Linked DNA regions of Homo sapiens: region 2 is linked to region 1. Evidence: promoter capture Hi-C in 16 types of primary human blood cells and fetal thymus (Javierre and others, 2016). All regions are on one chromosome and are shown on one strand. Each heading gives the region's core, a stretch centred on a gene start or on the middle of the fragment in contact. The rest is flanking DNA. Distances are from core to core; before and after follow the strand shown. Region 1 holds the start of CEACAM3 (CEA cell adhesion molecule 3). Region 2 holds the start of CEACAM7 (CEA cell adhesion molecule 7).

Region 1 (5,459 bases), core at 1,598-4,097:
ACTTTTCATTTTTCAGACTTTCAAAAATATTGTAAAAATAGTCAGAGTTCCAGTATATCCTTCATCCAGCTTTTTCAAATAACCTTAACTCTAAAGCAATTATCAAAATCAGTCACCTAGCATTGATACAAAAAATTTTAAAATATAGAAATATGGGGCCGGGCACGGTGGCTCACGCCTTTAATCCCAGTACTTTGGGAGGCCAAGGAGGGTAGATCACGAGGTGAGGAGATCGAGACCATCCTGGCTAACACGATGAAACCCCGTCTCTACTAAAAATACAAAAATTAGCCAGGCGTGGTGGCAGGTACCTGTAATCCCAGCTACTCGGGAGGCTGAAGCAGGAGAATCTCTTGAACTCAGGAGGTGGGGGTTGCAGTGAGCCCAGATCGAGCCACTGCACTCCAGCCTTGGCGACAGAGTGAGACTCTGTCTCCAAAAAAAAAAAAAAGAAATATTAAAATTTTGCTAATCATCCCAGTCATGTCTTTTTTCTGCTCCAGAGTCCAACCCAGGATCCCACACTGAATAACACTGTCACATTTCCTAGGCCTCCTCCAACCTGGGGGAGTTTCCCACTCTTTCCCTCTCTCAGGACCTTGATGCTTTTGAGGAGGTCTGGTCAGTTGTTTTGTAGAATGCCCCTCAATTTGGGTTTGTCTCATGTTTCCTTGGGATGTTTCAGGTTATGCATTTTGGGCAAGATTAGCACAGAAGCGATGTGTCTTTCTCAGGACATCCCAGCCGGAGCCCCAGGATGTCTATATCTCTCATTACCGATGAGGTTCACTTTAAGCGCTTGGTTCAGGTGGTGTCTGCCAGGTTTCTCTACTGTGAAGTTACTATTCATCTCATTGTAATTAATAAGTATCTTGTGGACAGGTACTTTGGAAATATGCAAATAGCCAGTTTGTTCTTAGCATACTTTTACCAATTAATTTCTAGAATCCAGAGATAATTGTAGCCGATAAACAATTCTTACTGTGGTGTTAGCCAGTGATTTTCTGCTTCCATCATTGCTTCTACACTGATTAACTGGAACGCTGCTGTAAGAAAGAGCTAGTTCTTCTTTCTCATTTATTTATGTATTCACTTATTTATATATATATCAGCATGGACTCTCAAGTATTTATCGGTTGGACTACATTACTATTATTATTGATTATGTTGCTATATTGTCCCCAAATTGGCCATTGGGAGCTTCTTCTAGTTGGCATTTGTGATACTTTCCACACATCCCCATCATTTTTCAAGTTGTGCCTTACTCTCAGGCCCCGCAAGATGCTCCAGTCTCCTCTTGTGGTTTCCTGCCCCAGCCCTGGAATCAGCCATTTCTCCAGGGAACCCTGGTTCCTTTCATGGGAGAATGATGTTTACAGACCATGGGCGCCCATATGCCCATTGCTAGTAGGTGCCGGTGCTTCTATGCCCTCTAGTGGTCAGAGCTGGGAAATAACACACCCACACTAGTGTACTGTTACCCACATTTCACAAATTAGGTAAATGAGGCACAGAAAAGTTAGGCAACTTGACCAACATCACAGAGAAAATAGGTAGTGGAACTGGGAAATGAAAATAATGACAGATGCACCACAAGTTCTAACAAGCAAAAGTAGCTTTTTCACACATCCACATCAGCAGAAAGCCACAAGCCCAATATTCCGGCGTAGACACTCTTTGAAAACCAGAATTCCACAGCAATAACCACGATGACAACCACCATGTACTCAACACCCGCCTGGGCACGGGGCTCCCACAGCAGCTCACTTATTCCCAACAACTCTGCAAGGAGGATTTTACCATCCTCCTTTTACAAATCAGGGAATCAAGGATCATAGAAGCCACGTGACTTGTCCAAGTCAACATAGTTAAGTGACAGAACCATTAGCTGTCCCCAGGTACATCTGGACATAAAGTTCATGTTTATGCCACTGTGTCAGCATTTCCAAAAACTGATTTTAGGCGAAACGTAAGTAAGCTTTTTAAAAACTTTAATACTTATGCGTTTATTTTAATATACATTGAGAAAACATTTAAGCACACATCAAATCTGTAATTTCATGGACAATATTGCATAAGACAAGGATGTTTTGTCTCCAACTCCTGGCCTCAAGCCATCCTCCCACCATAGCCTCTCGAGTAGCTGGGATCACAGATCTGAGCCACCGATCCCTGCTAGGACAGGATGTTTTGTAAACTAAATTTATTTAGAAAAAAGGATGAAATATATAATAATAAAGGTGGTACAAGCTAGAGAGAAAATCATAAAGTCAGCCTAGAAATGTCTGGTGTCTGGATGACATAAAGCTACAGCACTGTGAAGCCTCATTCTCAGTTACTCCCAGGAAATTAGAGTCACATAATGCTGCAGAAAGAACAGCTCAGAATCTTAGATCCGGGCTTTAGCCCTAGATATATCCATTTGTAGGACCCCAGACATCTCTGTGACCTCCTTGCTGGGAGTAAATCCAACCTTCCCAGACATGTGAGAACAGTAAGAAGACCCTGCACACACAAAGGAGTTTCTCCGTCACAGAGAAAATAACACCAGGTTCAGGGACCCCAGGGACTCTGCATGGTGCTGACAGACCCAAGGCCAAGGCAGAGCAGAGGTCCACGCTGGGGAGGGAGGGTCATCCTGTTATGAAACAGGGATCCAAGTAAGCCTTGCTTCTCAGAGCCTGGTCTGGGGAACTCAAATGTAGACAGAAGGGAGAAAGGAAGAAGAGAAAATGAGGCAAAACTGAGAGGGGAGGGGACAGAGAGGTGACCTGGGCAGAGCTTCACCCATGACCCTGGAAAGTGCTCCTGCCCTGGGAGGAGGCTCAGCATGGAAAGAGGAAGGACAGCAGAGCCTAAGTCACAGTAGCCCTGACTACAGCATTCCTGGAGCCCAGGCTCTTTTCCACAGAGGAGGAAAGAGCAGGCAGCAGAGACCATGGGGCCCCCCTCAGCCTCTCCCCACAGAGAATGCATCCCCTGGCAGGGGCTTCTGCTCACAGGTGAGTGGAGGATTCCTGGGAGTGGGCAAGAGGAGGGATCACAGAGAATGGCTGGGGTCTCCTGGGGAGGATGGGGCTCTGATAGGGGACAGAAGGCTTCTGCTGAAGCCTCAGGGGAGAGAACATCAGAGAGGGACACGGGTCACAACAAGACAATCACATTGAACTGGGATTGATAAGAGGGAGGAAAATCCATTGATCATGTTTTCCAAGTTAATCATTACTGGCCACTACAATTAGAAAATGATAAGAATAAGAATTACATCAGGGTGATACTTTAAATAAAAATATAACCAGGGCACTAAAACCTGTCTTTGACCACCAACCACAAGTTGCAAAATAACCACCACTCCTTAACTCATCCACCAGTATTTGCAATCAAATTTTAGGCACTGGCGTACAACAAATATCAGACAAGTCTCTGTGTTCAAAGAGCTTACACTCTTGCAGAGATGAAGATAGACACCCAAAGAGATCTAGAATGTGAGTTCAGGTGTTGACAAGAGCCCTGGAGGGAACAGAGCAGAAAAAGGTCAGAAAGGGAAGACCCAGGGTCTCTAGAGGAGGTGTCAGGGGAGGGATCTCCCAAGGATGCCCTGATGTGAGCAGGATCTGAGGGCAGTGGGGAGGGAGCCATGCAGACCCCTGGGGAAGGGGATTCCACACAGGAAAATGCCAAGGTTAGAGGTGCTGAAGAAAGAAAGGTCACGTTACTGACCTTGACCAAGTGGGACACACATACACTCTCCAAGGCTGAAGGGTGAAGAGACTCTCTCAGGACCCAGGGCCCCATCTTTCCATCCCAATACATGGGTCCCAATATTGACTGATGCTTTCTCCCTCCTAGCCTCACTTCTAAACTTCTGGAACCCGCCCACCACTGCCAAGCTCACTATTGAATCCATGCCGCTCAGTGTCGCAGAGGGGAAGGAGGTGCTTCTACTTGTCCACAATCTGCCCCAGCATCTTTTTGGCTACAGCTGGTACAAAGGGGAAAGAGTGGATGGCAACAGTCTAATTGTAGGATATGTAATAGGAACTCAACAAGCTACCCCAGGGGCCGCATACAGCGGTCGAGAGACAATATACACCAATGCATCCCTGCTGATCCAGAATGTCACCCAGAATGACATAGGATTCTACACCCTACAAGTCATAAAGTCAGATCTTGTGAATGAAGAAGCAACTGGACAGTTCCATGTATACCGTGAGTATTTCCACATGACCTCTGGGTGTTGGGGGTCAGTTCTACTTCCCACATATGGGATTGTCAGGCCTGGGCTGTGCCTGTGGCCCTCTCTGCATTACATTCTGTATCAGGGTTTGGACATTTAGTGCAGGACACACACGGGGGAGACAAACTTCCACAGATCAGAATTCCTTTCCTGCATCCAGACCCTGCAGACACTCGCTGCAGAGGAAGGACAGTCTGATGGGGGGACTCAGCAGGGCAAGGTCAGTGTCAGAAAAGAACCCCATGGTCTCCCCATGGACCTGACCCTAAGAAAGACCCTGGAGAACTGGATCAGGGCCTGGCCTGAGGGGTCCCCCTAGGATTCTCAGAGAGAAGCTCAACTCTTCCCAGAACTGAGCCCCTGTGCAAATCCCTGTCCCAGATTCCTGACTCCAGGTGACCCTGGGGACCCTAGGGATCCTGTGCCAGGGCTGAGTGAGGCCTCCTGGGCAGGGCTGACTGGGAGCAAGAATTTACCAGCTGTCTGAGGGTCGTGGCTCCTGGAGTTGGTCACCAGCCAGGGTCCAGCCCCAAGAACCTCTCCTGGGCAAGGACAGGGCCTCATCCTTTACCTGAGACTCAGCATGGAGTGAACAGATGGACAAGATTACTAGGGCATGAGCCCACTGCCCAGGGGAACTTAGATGACTCCATGGGAAGTTCAGTATCCCCAGGGGGAGGAAAAAGAAGAGAGAAGATGCTCCCAGCAGCTCCTTTTCCACAAGGGATCAGACTCAGGGACCTCTCTTTTGGAGGCAAATAAGCATAGATGCTGTTCCTTTGGGCAGCTCCTCTATACACAGCTGAGGTCAAGTAATTGTAAATATTTTGAGATTAATTCACAAACAACGTCACAGCCAAATAGCACTTATCCTACTTATTGAAAAAAAAAATTGAGGAACAGGGAGACAGTCACCGACTAGGGTCACACAAGTCAAAGGTGTCAGATTAGAGTCACACGAGGTCTCTCTGCAGCCACAGCTGCCTCTTCTCCACCAGGGGACGGCTGGCGTTATTATTAGACATCTGCAGGCCTGAGACCAGTCCTAAGTTCTCTTTCCTTTTTCTTGGGCATCCACATCTCAGAGGGGGAGATTTTGGTCTGGAGAGTAAGGGGCAAATGGAAAATTAATCAATTTTTCCTGATATAGTTTGGATGTTTATCCTCTCCAAATCTCATGTTGAAATGTGATCCCCAACATTGGAGGTGAGGCCTGGTGGGA
Region 2 (5,459 bases), core at 1,602-4,101, 110 kb before region 1:
GCAGGGGATGAGAGAGGTGGAACATGGGTCTCAGTCCCTTGGAGGGACAGGGAACAGGTGCCAGAGCCTCCTAGGATCCTGCATCAGGTTCCAGTCTCTGAAGAGATTATGGATCATTCATTCCTTCATTCATTCCCTCCCTCCTTCATGAGAGAACTACTGAGCGAGTGTGTTTCTCACTTTGGGCCCTGGCATGTGCAGGGTGTGAGTGGGGAGAGAAAGCAAAGTCTTCTCCTTTATCCTCCTGTGGGAGTGACACCAACACATCAGGAAACACAGGATTTCAGGTCCAGTGAGGGTAGGAGTGTGAATCTAAGGGAGAGGCCTGGACATTCCCAGCACTGACTCTGATAGTTGAGGCAAGAGATTCAGTTCTAGGTAAAAACTAATTCTCTATTTGTTCCTCACTCCCTAGACCAGAATCTCCCACTTCTGGCTTGGATGCCTAGGAAGCAAGCTCTGTGGCTACAAAGACCTGGGGACTCTGATGTGACTGTCCGGTCCGTGAGACCCTGCCTCAGTGGCTGTATTTCCTTCTGCCTCAGTTTCCTTTAACAAAATGAGATAAAGCGTAAATGGTCTCTGGCTTGCCTTGCTGTCTGTGAATTTACCTTAAAATAATCACAATTACCTGGATGAGAGCCCTGTGTAGAAGAGCTGCCCAAACAAGCAGGATCTCTGATTGTTTGCCTCCAGGAGTGGGTTATTTGGACCTGATTCCTGGTGTACAAAGAACTTACAGCAGAAACTTTCTTCTTCTTTTTCTCCCCCTGAGGACACTGACTCCCCTAGGACCTCTCTTAAGTTCCTCATCCAGGGGGACTGAGGTCCTAGTAATCCTGTTCATCTGTCCTCTCCAGGCTGAGTCTCAGGTGAAGGATGAGGCTCTGTCCTTGCCCAGATGAGGCCCTGGGGGTGACCAGGCTGGTGACCAGCTCCATGAGCCATGATCCTCAAACAGCTCAAATCCTTGCTCTCAGTCAGTTCAGCCCAGGAGGCCACAACCCAGCCCTGACACAGGTTCCTTAGGGTCACCTGGAGTCAAGAGCCCTGGGACAGGGATCTGGGACTTGTGCTTCCAGGGCTGAGCTTCTCTGTGAGGATTCCAGGGGACTCCTCAGGCCAGGCTCTGACCCAGTTCTCCAGGGTCTTTTTCAGGGGGAGGGCACAGAATCTTGGCTGAGACTGATCTCCCCCTGCTGAGTGCCCCCCATCAGACTGTCCTTCCTCTGCAGCAAGTATCTGCAGGGTCTGGATGCAGGAAAGGGATTCTGGTCTGTAGAAGTTTGTCTCCCCCATGTGTGTCCTTCACTAAATGCCCAAACTCCAACACTGGATAAAATGTAGATGGGGACACAGGCACAACCCAGGCCTGACAACCCCGTGTGTATGAAGTAGAACTGGCCCCCAGCACCCAGAAGTCATGGAGGTATCACTCACAGAATACGTAGAATTGTCTGGTTACTTCTTCATTCACAAGATTTTCTTTTATAACGTGTAGGGTATAGATTCCTGCGTCATTGTGGGTGACGTTCTGGATCAGCAGGGTTCCATTGGGGTATATTGTCTCTCGACCGTTGTGTGCGGGCCCTGGGGCATTTTCTTGACTTATATTTTTTACATATCCTATAATTCGATAGTTGGCATGCACCCTTTCCCCTTTGTACCAGTTGTAGCCATAAAGATTCTGGGACTCATTATGGACTACTAGAAGGACCTCCTTCCCTTCTGCGACATTGAACGGCACGACATCAATATTGGTCTGGGCACTGTTTGGCAGGTTCCAGAAGGTTAAAAGCGAGGCTAGGAGGGGGAGAGAACATCAGTCAATATTGGGACCTATGTATTGGGGTGGAAAGATGGGGCCCTGGATCCTGAGCAGGTCTCTTCACCCACCCCCATCTTGAAGTAAGTGTGTGTGTGTGTGTGTGTGTCCTACTGGATCAATGTCAGCAGCATGTCCCCTATCAGCACCTCTGACCTTACATTTCCCTGTTCGGAATCCTCTTCCCCAGGGATCTGCAGGGCTCCCTCCATACTGCTGGACCTGCTTACATCAGGGCATCCTTGGGAGACCCCTTCCCTGACACCTTCTCTAGAAGCCCTGGGTGTTCCGTTTCTGACATTTCCCTGCTCTGTTCCCTTTAGAGCTCTTGTCAACACCTGGCTTCACATTCTAGATCTCTTTGCCTGTCTGTCTTCTGCCGCATGAGAGCGTGAGCTCTGTGAGGGCAGGGACTTGTGTGAACTGGATTGCACCCCAGTGCCTGGAACAGGCTGCAGGCTCCAGTAGATGAGTTCATGAGAGTTCCCAGGGCCCTCCCTCCACATCCTGGGGTTTATTTTCCAATGCCTGAGGTTGGTGGCTAGGGACAATGTTTTATGCCCTGGTTATGTTTTTATTTGAAGCGTCACATGATATAGTTATTATTATCATATTTCAAAATGTAGCAGCTAGTGATGATTAACCAGGAAAAGAGAACATGTGAGATTTTCTTGACCCTTTCCAATTCCAGTCCAATGTGATTTTCCTGTTCTGGTTTCCTGTCCCTGTCTGGTGTCCTCTCCCAAAGGACTTCAACAGAAGCCCTTTGTCCCCTCTCAGAGCCCCGTCCTCCCAAGGAGACCCCAGCCAGTCTCTCTGGCCCTCCTCCCACCCACTCCCAGGAAGTCCTCCCCTCACCTGTGAGCAGGAGCCCCTGCCAGGGAATGCACACTCTGTATGGACAGGCTGAAGGGGACCCCATGGTCTCTGCTGCCTGCTTGTCCTCTGTGGAGAAGAGCTTGGGCTCCAGGAACTCTCTTGTCAGGGCTGCTGTGACTGTCAGCTCTGCTGTCCTTCCTACCTCTGTGCTGAGCCTCCTCCCAGGGCAGGAGCACTTTCCAAGATCACATGGTCCAGGGGTGGGGTCTCTGCTCAGGAGTCCTCTGTCCCCTCCCCTCTCATTCCTGCCTCTTTTGTCCCTCTTCCTCTTTCCCTTTTGTCTATATTCAGTTCCCGATACAAAGCTTTGAGTAGCAAGGCTGATGGACCCCTGTCCCCTGGGAGGACAACCAACCTTTCCCAGTGCTGACCTATGCTGTGTTCTGGCCTTGGGTCTGTCACACCAGGGGGATTATTTCCCTTGTGACAGAGAAACCCAGCTGGGCCTTGGGTTTCTGCTGGGATGATGCCCAGCAGGAAGGTGACAGAGGTGGCTCTGGGGGATAGAAAGGGGCTCACTGGGGGATGACTGGGGAGGGACCAGCCCTCTGTCTCCAGTGACCCAGGCACAGAAACCAAGGCCCAGGGGTCTCAGGAGGAGCTACAGCTCCTGGGTGTGGAGGGAGGTGTCTGGTGTGTCCTGGGAAGAGAGCTGTGGTGGAGGGAGGTGTGTGGCTCTGAGCTCTGCTGTCCTTGGGGAAGGCTTCAAGGAAACCCTCCCTCTCCCTGTCTTTTGGATGTGCTGTGGCTCAGGTCCTTTCCATGTTCTACCTGACCTGGAAGCCTCTGTCTGGCTGACAGTCCTGTGGTCACCCCGCCTTCCCCATGGGTGGTGCCAGGAGGGAATGGGGAGCTGCACAGAAACCCCTGGCAGAGCGGGGTCTTCAAAGGCCCCAGGAAGGAAGAGGTGGGACACAGCAGGAACGCGTGAAAGACAAGAAGGGTCTGTTGGAGCAAGGAATGGAAACCAGGCTCCACCTTCACCACCTTAGCAAGGCCAAGTTCATGTCCAGGGGAATTACAGCTGACCTTCGAACACACAGATTTGAACACACAGGTCCACTTACATGTCGATGTTTTTTTGTTTGTTTGTTTGTTTGTTTGATTTTTGTTTTTTGTTTTTTGTTTGTTTGTTTTTTGCTTTTTTTTTTTTCCTGAGACAGAGTCTCACTCTGTTGCCCATGCTAGAGTGCAGTGGCACGATCTCAGCTCACTACAACCTCCACCTCCCGGGTTCAAGTGATTCTCCTGCCTCAGCCTCCCAAGTAGCTGGGACTATAGGCACCCGCCACCACGCCTGGTTAATTTTTGTATTTTTAGTAGAGGCGGGGTTTCACCATGTTGGCCAGGCTGGTCTCAGACTCCTGACTTCAAATGATCCACCCACCTCAGCCTCCCAAAGTGCTGAGATTACAAGCATGAGCTGCCATGCCCAGCCACATGCAGATGTTTTAAATTAAAAGTTGCACTGAGTGTGTCCCCTCCTCTTGCCTCCCCTCCACCTCTTCTACCTCTGCCATCTCTGAGACAGCAAGACCACCCTCTCCTTTCCTCCTCCTCAGCCTACTTAACCTGGAGACAAAAAAAGGATAAAAGCCTTTATGATGATCCACTGTCACTTAATGAATAGTAAATATGTTTTATCTTCCTTATGATTTTCATAGTAACATTTTATTTTCCCCAGCTTATGTTATTGTAAGAGTACAGTATATAATATAAATAAACATGCAAAATACATTGATTTACCGTTTATGTTAACAATAAGGCTTCTGGTCAAGAGTAGGGTTTTAGTGGTTCAATTGTTGGGAAGCCAAAAGTTATACAAAGATTTTCTACGGGGTCCTCAGCACCCTTAACCCCTGCCTTATTCGAGAATCAACTGCAATTTCCTGAGTGTTCTCTGTGTGCGATGTGCACCCCTGGAAGGCAAGAGATCTGTGGTCAAAGTCAGGGGCTGTTCCAGGGATGTTGACGAGGGTCCACATGGTGTGACCTCCAAGCTACAGGATCAGGTCACCCCAGGTCCTGCTCATGGAGAGTCCCAGGCTGCCCAACTCCATGCAGTGCAGGATGAGCTCAAGGAGAGGACAGGAGTTGTCCAGAGAACAGCAAATCAAGATTTGGAGAACTGTCCACCAGGGGGATAGGCTGCCTCAGAAGGAGCCACCTGTCCCCAAGGTTTCAAAGGTAGGACCCAGAGAGGTGTCTCTGGGGGCTTCAGAGAGAGGACACCAGCCTAGGAGGTGGTCCCCAGAGAGCCCTGTGTTCCTCCATCACAGCACTGGGGGTGCTGCCTCCAGGTCATCTGTGTCCCTGTCTGTCGTCTGCTCCAGGCCTCCTGGCAGGACCCAGGAGCTGGGGCATTTCCCACCTGGATACTCAGGCAGGGGTTTCCTGGTTCCTCTGTTATGGGAGGGGGAGGCCCTATGACCCTTAGCCTCTCTGAGATGGAAACAAAGGCAGATCCTGGGTTATCCTGTCCTCCTGCAGGGGAAGTTCCCCTGGGTCCCCAGGTCTCCTTGGGCTGGTTAGAGGTCTCCAGAGACCACAGCCAGGAGCCCCCATCTCCAGGGACCCTCGGGGGTGGGGTGTCATCACCCAACTTCCTTGTGATCAGGTCCCCTGGTGGTCACTCCATCTGGGATGGAGGATCCAGAGTCTGCAGCAGGTCAGGTGTCTTTGTGAGAAGAGGAAGGACATAGGCTGCTGGCCCAGGCCCCCTGGGAGTCGTGACATGACTCACAAGTCAGAGACG

The links. Contacts are between HindIII fragments. The CHiCAGO score rates a contact against its expected background, and 5 or more counts as called.
Region 2: the fragment with the promoter of CEACAM7 here is called in contact with the fragment with the promoter of CEACAM3 in region 1 in 4 of 17 cell types (megakaryocytes, endothelial precursors, activated CD4 T cells and 1 more); the score reaches 6.3 in megakaryocytes.

Annotation. Positions count from the first base shown.
Region 1 is chr19:41,793,740-41,799,198 of GRCh38, forward strand. It overlaps CEACAM3 (CEA cell adhesion molecule 3), which reads left to right and starts at 2,848. Exons shown (of 7, transcript NM_001815.5): 1 at 2,848-3,002; 2 at 3,850-4,209. The coding sequence starts at 2,939. The HindIII fragment of the contact is 3,675 bases long and covers 1,977-5,459 here.
Region 2 is chr19:41,685,419-41,690,877 of GRCh38, forward strand. CEACAM7 (CEA cell adhesion molecule 7) reads right to left here and starts at 2,852. Exons shown (of 5, transcript NM_001291485.2): 1 at 2,684-2,852; 2 at 1,441-1,803. The coding sequence starts at 2,747. The HindIII fragment of the contact is 5,666 bases long and covers 1-3,007 here.